Linked DNA regions of Homo sapiens: all the other regions are linked to region 1. Evidence: promoter capture Hi-C in human tissues and cell types (Jung and others, 2019). All regions are on one chromosome and are shown on one strand. Each heading gives the region's core, a stretch centred on a gene start or on the middle of the fragment in contact. The rest is flanking DNA. Distances are from core to core; before and after follow the strand shown.

Evidence for each region. The method cuts DNA at HindIII sites, captures the fragments that hold promoters and counts their contacts. A contact is called where the count stands out against the background at its distance.
Region 2: a fragment that was not itself captured here is called in contact with the fragment with the promoter of MTO1 in region 1 in 1 of the 25 tissues and cell types used here (pancreas).
Region 3: a fragment that was not itself captured here is called in contact with the fragment with the promoter of MTO1 in region 1 in 4 of the 25 tissues and cell types used here (aorta, bladder, liver and 1 more).

The regions. Positions count from the first base shown.
Region 1 is chr6:73,460,386-73,463,181 of GRCh38, forward strand. It overlaps MTO1 (mitochondrial tRNA translation optimization 1), which reads left to right and starts at 1,352. Exons shown (of 12, transcript NM_012123.4): 1 at 1,352-1,686. The coding sequence starts at 1,470. RefSeq lists a silencer at 853-912 and enhancers at 1,345-2,190, 1,363-1,692, 1,763-1,822, 1,843-1,892. The HindIII fragment of the contact is 26,494 bases long and covers 1-2,796 here.
Region 2 is chr6:73,315,149-73,318,148 of GRCh38, forward strand. No RefSeq gene overlaps it. Among named protein-coding and RNA genes, the nearest start is that of C6orf147, 6.3 kb to the left of the region's middle. The HindIII fragment of the contact is 5,323 bases long and covers 1-3,000 here.
Region 3 is chr6:73,633,385-73,636,483 of GRCh38, forward strand. It overlaps SLC17A5 (solute carrier family 17 member 5), which reads right to left. Exons shown (of 11, transcript NM_012434.5): 6 at 1,998-2,116. Among named protein-coding and RNA genes, the nearest start is that of SLC17A5, 19 kb to the right of the region's middle. The HindIII fragment of the contact is 5,424 bases long and covers 1-3,099 here.

The DNA of each region.
Region 1 (2,796 bases), core at 102-2,601:
AATCTCTCTCTCTCTTTTTTTTTTTTTTGAGACAGAGTCTCACTCTTGTCGCCAGGCTGGAGTGCAGTGGCACGATCTCGGCTCACTGCAACCTCTGCCTACGGGTTCAAGCAATTCTCCTGCCTCAGCCGCCCAAGTAGCTGGGACTACAGGTGCATGCCACCACACCTGGCTAATTTTTTTTTTTGTATTTTAGTACAGACGGGGTTTCACCATGTTGCCCAGATTGGTCTCGAACTCCTGAGCTCAGGCAATCTGCCCCCTTCGGCCTTCCAAAGTGCTAGGATTACAGGCGTGATCCACCATGCCCAGGCACCATCATGAATCTTTCAGTCCACAAATATATTTGAACTCCTTTCGAATCTATTCTTTTTCTTTTCTTTTTCTTTTTTTTTTTTTGAGACGGAGTCTTGCTCTGTCGCCCAGGCTGGAGTGCAGTGGCACAATCTTGGTTCACTGCAACCTCGGCCTCCCAGGTTCAAGCGATTCTCCTGCCTCAGTCTCCTGAGTAGCTGGGATTACAGGTGCATGCCACCACTCCCGGCTAATTTTTTTTTTTTTTTTTTTTTTTTTTTTTTTTAGTAGCGATGGGGTTTCACCATGTTGACCAGGATGGTCTCCATCTCCTGACCTTGTGATCCACCTGCTTCGGCCTCCCAGAGTGCTGGGAATACAGGCGTGAGCCACCGCGCCCGGCCCGAATCTATTCTTATTTTCAGCCCTTAGTTTTTATAGACAAACAGAAGGTGACGGTGTATCAGATTGTCAGATCACAAAGATCTGATAAGGCAAAGTGATCAAATTCATTGATCGTAGGTGGCCACCTGGCGATAAGGACTGCAGGGCCTAAGAAAGTACAAAAGATGACCTTTAGTAGGAGCTCCCAACCCAGAACCACAGGAAATCAAAAAAAGCCCGCACGGGCGGATCACGAGGTCAGGAAATCGAGAACATCCTGGCTAATACGGTGAAACCCAGTCTCTACTAAAAATACAAAAAATTAGCCGGGCGTAGTGGCGGGCGCCTGTAGCCCCAGCTACTCGGAGGCTAAGGCAGGAGAATGGCGCGAACCCGGGAGGGGGAGCTTGCAGTGAGCCGAAATCGCGCCACTGCATTCCAGCCTGGGCAACAGAGCGAGACTCTGTCTCAAAATAAATAAATAAATAAATAAATAAATAAATAAATAAATAAATAAATAAATAAATAAATAAAAATAAAAAATAATAATAATAAAAAAAGCCCGCACGAACTAGGAAAGAAAATACACAACCGGCCCTCCGTGCGATCACCCATCTCCCTCACCAGGAAAGTAGCTCCAAACCGCCAATCAGCGGCGACGCTGGACGTAGACGTCCTACCCCGTGATATTAAAGCAAGATGGCCGCGCCCTGCAGATTGTCTCTTGTTGCGTAAGTTTTTTTGACCGTCACTCGTGTCAGCTTCAAAGTCAGATAGATTTTTCTCCCAGCATGTTCTACTTCCGAGGCTGTGGCCGTTGGGTCGCGGTTTCCTTCACCAAGCAGCAATTTCCGTTGGCACGGTTGAGCAGTGACAGCGCGGCGCCCCGGACTCCGCACTTCGACGTGATAGTCATTGGTGGAGGACATGCCGGGACTGAGGCAGCCACCGCCGCCGCTCGGTGCGGCTCTCGGACTCTGCTCCTCACTCACCGCGTGGACACGATCGGTGAGGAGCGCGGGTGCTGTGGAACTTGGCGTAGGACGCAGGCTGCTTCCTTCCCGCCTCCCCCGGTCTGAAGCGGGGGACCTCTTCCTTTCCTCAAAGCTAGTGAGAATCCTACCTTCTGTGGTTTTAGCCTCGATCAGTGTCTCGCAAGGATCAGGCGGGCCAGGCCAGAACTCTATATTAGTCTATTCTGCGAACCATAGATTATGCTGCTGCTGACAGTCGTCCGTTGTAGGAGGTTGGGGTTCGGGGTCAGTGCCTTGGGAAAGGGAGCTACCAACTACTCGCTGGTAGCTTCTTAGTTCATTGCTGCGTTTACCTTCTACTATGTTACTCCAGATAAAGGGTGAATTAACATTATTAACAATGGTTTATGGCCAGGTGCAGTGGCTCACTTCTTTAATCCCAGCACTTTGGGATGCCAAGGCAGGTGGATCACCTGAGGTCAGGAGTTTGAGACCAGCTTGGCCAACACGGCGAAACCCCGTCTCTACTAAAAATACAAAAATTAGCCGGGCATGGTGGCGGGCGCCTATAATCCCAGCTACTCGGGAGTCTGAGGCAGGAGAATCGCTTGAACCCGGGGGCAGAGGTTGCAGTGAGCCGAGATTGCGCCACTTCACTCCAGCCTGGGCAAAAGAGCAAAACTCCGTCTCAAAATAATGATAATATTAATAAAATAAAAAAATCCTTTATTAAACGGTTCTTGTGTTTTTATTTAAAAACATTTTTTTAGAGACAGGGTCTCGCCATGTTGCCCAGGCTGGAGTGCAGTGACTACTCATAGGCACGATCGTTGCACATTACAGGCTCCGCTTTCTGGACTCAAGAACTTTTCCTGCCTCTGCCTAACCAGTAGCTGGGATTGCAGGTGCTCAGTACTCTGCCCAGCCTGATCTTTGTGTTTCTGTCAAGATTTTGTGATGCCTTTTGGAAGAACCATGCTACCTTTTTTTTTTTTTTTTCTTTTGAGACAGAGTCTTGCACTGTCACACAGGCTCAAGTGCAGTGGCGCCATCTCGGCTCACTGCAAGCTCCGCCTTCCGGGTTAATGCCATTCTCCTGCCTCAGCCTCCCGAGTAGCTGGGATTACAGGCACCCACCACCACG
Region 2 (3,000 bases), core at 351-2,850, 140 kb before region 1:
CTAGGCCTCTCTCGCTTCTCCGACCCCTGGTGTTGGGTGTCCCCTGGCGATCGCGGGAACCCTCAGAGCAGCGGAATGGGATCTGTGCGGGACGGAGCGCGAGCCCCAATCCCTGTGGCTTTAAAACTCCCCGGCGCTTAGGTTATTCGATGCCCACCAGCCTTACCGATTTAGGTAAAGGAGTAAATAAATTGGCACCTGTAAGACAAGAGTCTCAACTACAGATAGTGGCAGGACACTGCAGCTCCTGACTTACAGCCCTGAATTTGGATGGCTCCTTCACAATTCGCCAGAGCTGCTAGGAGGAGCGGGGACGTGGGAACAGATAGGGAGGTAGTATGTGGAAGAGTAAGTGCCAGGAGGACCTTGGTTAGAGCCCTGACTTGGCCATTTACAAGTTGTGTGATCTTGGACAATTTACTTTTGTGAGCCTGGGTGTTCCAACTTGAAAAGGAATATAATTATTTTTTCCTTGCAACAATGGAGGTGGGGAGGTAGTATTTGAGTGTACTAGGCATAAACTAGTATGGGCATTTTGCATGTTAGGGTTTCACTGGAAATGCCTCCTTTCTGACTGCCCCCTATACACGCACACACACACAATCTATTCTGTTCCCTCAATGGTGAGTAAGGAAGGATAGAGGAAGCCTCTTTCCTCTTAGTGTACCTTCCTTGTCACCTTGCATTTACAATAGCTACTTCTAGGCACTGAACCATATTTTTAAAGACTCTTCTCCTCTCACTGTTGCTTGATGTTACATGGATTAATAGGTATAGGATCCAAGGTTCAGGGCAGTCAGAGAGTTTTATAGACATATTTTTTTTCAGTTATTTCAAGGTCAGACACTAACCCTAAGGCAACATAAGGCATACTAATTAGAGCAAGGAATTTACCCCGAGATCCATGCTAGCTTCATGAACTCTATGCTTGTTCGTTAAATATGCATATATAGCTTTCAGCATACTATCTAAGGCAGTGCTGTTCAATAGACGTTCCTGCAGTGATGGAGATATATATAAAATTGTGTTGTTCAATATGGTAGCCACTAGCCACATGTGGCTGTTGAGCTCCTGAAATGTGGCTGGTGCTATGAGAAATTGAATTTTTAATTTTATTTAATTTTAAGTAAGTTAAATTTAAATTGCCAAATATGACTAGTAACTAATGTATTGGACAGTGTAACTCCAAAGAATTCATTACCTTCCTTATCTCCCCAAAAATAGTAAGCACAGATTTAAAACTTAGCAAATTTTGTCATAAACCTTGAATAGACAACCAAAAGCCAAATAAAATATTAAATTGAAACTGGAATCCTTTCAATATTACTCCCTACTGAATGAATTGTGGACCCAGCTTTGCAAAAGAATAACAAGAAGAAAAGCTAAGATGAGGGGAGATGGTGTTCGAAATGATGATTGGGTCTGGGCACAGTGGCTCACACCTGTAATCCCAGCACTTTGGGAAGCAAAGGTGGAGGCGGGCAGATGGTTTGAGCCCAGGAGTTCGAGACCAACCTGGGCAACATGACGAAACCCCGTCTCTACAAAAAAAATTTAAAATTTTTTTTAAAAATTAGTTGAGCATGGTGGCATATGATTTTGGTCCCAACTATGAGGGAGGCTGAGACAGGAGGATCGCTTGAGCCAGGGAGCTCAAGGCTTCAGTGAGCTGAGATCATGCCACTGAACTCCAGCCTGGGTGACAGAGTGAGGCCCTATCCCCCCCAAAAAAAAAAAAAAAAAAAAAATGAGGACTGGGGAGGTACTTGCTAGCTTTTTCTTTTGTTATGCATGTTACAAAGGTCCACAAAATGGCTTACAATTACAAAGGTCTCTTTTTCTTTTATATTACTCATCTGTAAGCTGTCTTTACTCTTGTACCCAGTGAATGTAGCAGCCCCATCTAGGACATGCCAGTCTTATGGCAGAGGAGAAGACATACACTTCTGTGATATGAAGCTTGGTTATGTAACAAATGGAGAGAGAAGTATATATACTTCTTCCTCAAAGAGGGGGAACGAAAGAAGAATTAAAGAAAACAGCCTGCATGTCCATCATAGAAAATGAGTTAAATAGAGCCATACAATATACTAGAGAGCAACTAAAAAATGAACTAAAACTGTGATACATCCATATGATATAATATTACTCAGCAATGAAAAGAATTAAGCTATCAAGCCAAAGAAAGGCATGGAGGAACCTATATTGCTAAGTGGAAAAAGCCAGTCTGTAAAGGTAACATACTGTATGATTCCAACAATATAACATTCTGGAAAAGGCAAAAATATTAGGTTGATGCAAAAGTACTTTATACAACCTAATATAAGTGATAGTAAAAACATCAGTGGTTGCTAGTGGCTTGGGGAAAAGGGGAAGGATGAATAGGTGAAGTGCAAGATTTTTTAGGGCAGTGAAATTATTCTGTATCATATTATTAATGGTGGCTACATGACATTATGCATTTATCAAACTATAGAACTTTATAACACAAAAAGTGGACCTCAATGTATGCAAATTAAAAAGAAATCATTTAGGAGGTTGGGAGAACCCAGACAAGAATTCAGACTCTGGCCAGGCACAGTGGCTCACGCCTGTAATCCCAGCACTTTGGGAGGCTAAGGCAGGCAGATCCTGAGGTCAGGAAATCGAGACCATCCTGGCTAACACAGCGAAACCCTGTCTCTACTAAAAATCCAAAAAATTATCTGGGCATGGTAGCAGTCGCCTGTATTCCCAGCTACTCAGGAGGCTGAAGCAGGAGAATTGCTTGAACCCGGGAGGCAGAGGTTGCAGTGAGCCGAGATCGCATCACTGCACTCCAGCCTTAGTGACAGAGCAAGACTCTGTCTCAAAAAAAAAAAAAGAGAATTCAGACTCTGACAGGGTACTCTATATTATAGTTACGTTAAACAACACCCTTAAAGGGGCAGGGTGAAAGTGCTGACATAAGTAACTTTGGAAGTGAATGGAGTTGGTAAGACTATAAGCAAAAAAAAAAAA
Region 3 (3,099 bases), core at 123-2,622, 170 kb after region 1:
ATGTTAAAGAGTACATTTTTCCTTCTTTTTAGAGATGGGGTCTCGCTATGTTGTCCAGGCTGGTCTTGAACTCCAGGGCTCAAGAAAACTGCCTGCCTTAGCCTCCCAAAGTGCTGGGATTACAGGCGTAAATCACCATGCCCAGCCAAGACTAAGTTTTTAATTTTACTGCCTGGTTATATTGTATATAAATATTTAAAATATCAATCTTGGGCTAGGCACAGTGGTTCATGCCTGTAATCCCAGCACTTTGGGAGGCCAAGGTGGGAGGATCGCTTGAGGCCAGGAGTTCGAGACCAGCCTGGCCAATAAGGTGAAATCCCGTCTCTACTAAAAATACAAAAAATTAGCTGGGAGTGGTGGCATGCACCTGTAATCCCAGCAACTCAGGAGGCTGAGGCAGGAGAATTGCTTGAACCAGGGAGATAGAGGTTGCAGTGAGCTGAGATTGTGCCACTACACTCCAGCCTGGGTGAGAGAGCGAAACTCCGTCTAAAAAAAAAAATAAATAAAATAAAATAAAATATCAATCATGACAATTTAATAGGAAAAGTCTTAAATATTTTATGTTCTTAAACTAATAAAGTGACTTTGAAGCCAACAAGAATGCTGAAAACAAACTGTGTATATTTTAATCTTTCCTAATGTTTTTATGTTCTTCTTTTATTCTACTCAAAAGGCAAACATTTTGTTTCCATGGTTTGAGAATTTAGTATATTGAATTATTATAGATTTTTATTTGTGATTTGCCTTTGTGCTCGATTAAGTGATTGAAATCTGGTTTTAATAAGATATAAACTTTTTTCTAAAGACCTACTCTAGAAGAGCAAACAGATGTATATCATATTATAATATTATATCATAATAAATGTGCTGTTCTCTTTCTTTAATGACACTCATTTAAAATATAGATACAGGTCCAATATCCCTTGTCTGAAATGCTTGGAACCAGAAGTGTTTTGGATTCTGGATTTTAGAATATTTGTATCACGTACCTTCCCAATTAAGCATCCTAAATCTTGTTTTTCTTTTCGAGATGGAGTCTTGCTCTGTCACCCAGGCTGGAGTGCAGTGGCACGATCTCAGCTCACTGCAACCTCTGCCTCCTGGGTTCAAGGAATTCTCCTGTCTCAGCCTCCCGAGTAGCTGGGACTACAGGTGTGTGCCACCATGCCCAGCTAATTTTTGTATTTTTAGCAGAGATGGGGTTTTGTCATGTTGGCCGGGCTGATCTCGAACTCCTGACCTCAGGCGATCCGCCTGCCTCAGCCTCCCAAAGTGCTGGGATTACAGGAGTGAGCCATCAGGCTGGCCAAGCATCCTAAATCTTAAAATCCAAAAATCTGAACTCTGAAATGCTCCAATGAGCATTTCCTTTGAGCATCATGTGGGTTCTCAAAAACTTTTGGATTTCAGAGTATTTTGGATTTAGAATTTTCAGATTTGGGATGTACAACTGTATAAACACACTAGTTGGTTTTCTAACAACTAATGGTCAGAATGAGAATCCTTTCATGAATAACACATTTTATTTTCTACTAATCAAGTGGAAAAAACAAACTTAAGACTCATTTGATAATCACTACACTAAAAGGTTTTAAAATGACTTAAAAATATTTTTTATAGTTTATAAAACTATACTTTCTATAAAAAATGAAAGAACTGAAATTCTTCAGACAATACTTTGTTCATATTTATGTATTTAAAATTTTTTTTTAAATATTTTAAATGTTTTGTAGAGAAAGGGTCTCACTATGTTGACTAGGCTAGTCTCCTGACCTCAAATGATCCTCCCACCTAGACCTCCCCAAAGGACTGGGATTACAAGTGTGAGCCACTGCACCCAGCCAGACAATACTTTGGATGTTCATTTCATTTGCCTATTCTACTTTGTCTAGAGCATGCACAATAGGAATATATATTTTTAAAAACTGATATCTTAATTCTGAAGAAAAAAAGTTTCTGACATTATTTTTAAAATGTGTCAAAGTCCATACCTGATTTCTTAATGATGAAAGAATGTATTCCTTTTCATAATGGGAAATTCTCTTGTGTTTTTGTGGTGTGTCACTAACTAACCAGATCCACAAAAGAAACCAAAATATTCCAATAGTACCTTAAAATAGAAAAATAATAGTTAGATAAAATTAGAATGTACCAAATAACAAACAAAACAAAACAAAAACACAAAATTAGAAAGCACCAACAACAATTTTTACATGTCTTGAAAAAATTATGTAACTATAAATTCAATGTAAAACTGACTTCAGTTTGGATTCAATTTCAAGTTTCTCTCAATTCTTTAATGGGATAATTGCTATAACTGTATTATTGCTTATACATTTTGAAGAAAACAACTTTTTTTTTTTTTTTTGAGATAGAGTCTTGCTCTGTCTCACAGGCTGGAGTGCAGTGACGTGATCTCGGCTCACTGCAACCTCCGCCTGCTGGGTTCAAGCAACTCTACTGTCTCAGCCTCCTGAGTAGCTGGGACTACAGGCACGTGCCACCACGCCTGGCTAATTTTTGTATTTTGAGTAGAGATGGGGTTCCACCATGTTGGCCAGGCTGGTCTTGAACTCCTGACCTCGTGATCCACCCGCCTCGGCCTCCCAAAGTGCTGGGATTACAGGTGTGAGCCACTGCACCCAGCCAGAAGAAAACAACTTTTAACCACATGACTTTGCCTATCAGGGTCTACCAGACAAATCTTTTTGAAGATACATTTCCACAATCTACATATTTCCAAAGGTGTCTGTTTTTGTTAGTTGAGTTTTAAATTTTGATTGCAGATATATTTCTTGCATGACATGTCTATGTGAAAATCTAATTTATTAAAAATGTGTATCATGCTGCCAAGGAAATTGAGCAATAAAATGCCTTGGGACTAAGTAAAAAGAAAAAAAAAAAAAAAACATTAAAACTACCAAGTGAGAACATCCTACTTTGCTTGAGAAGAAATTCAAAATACCTAAGATAGTGATTTTTTGATAGCAAATGTACTATTTAAGTACAGGATCAACAGTCATTTCTACTGAGAAATATTCCAAAACTAACATCAGCTCGTAACTCAAATAGGTCAAGTAAATCATACCAACT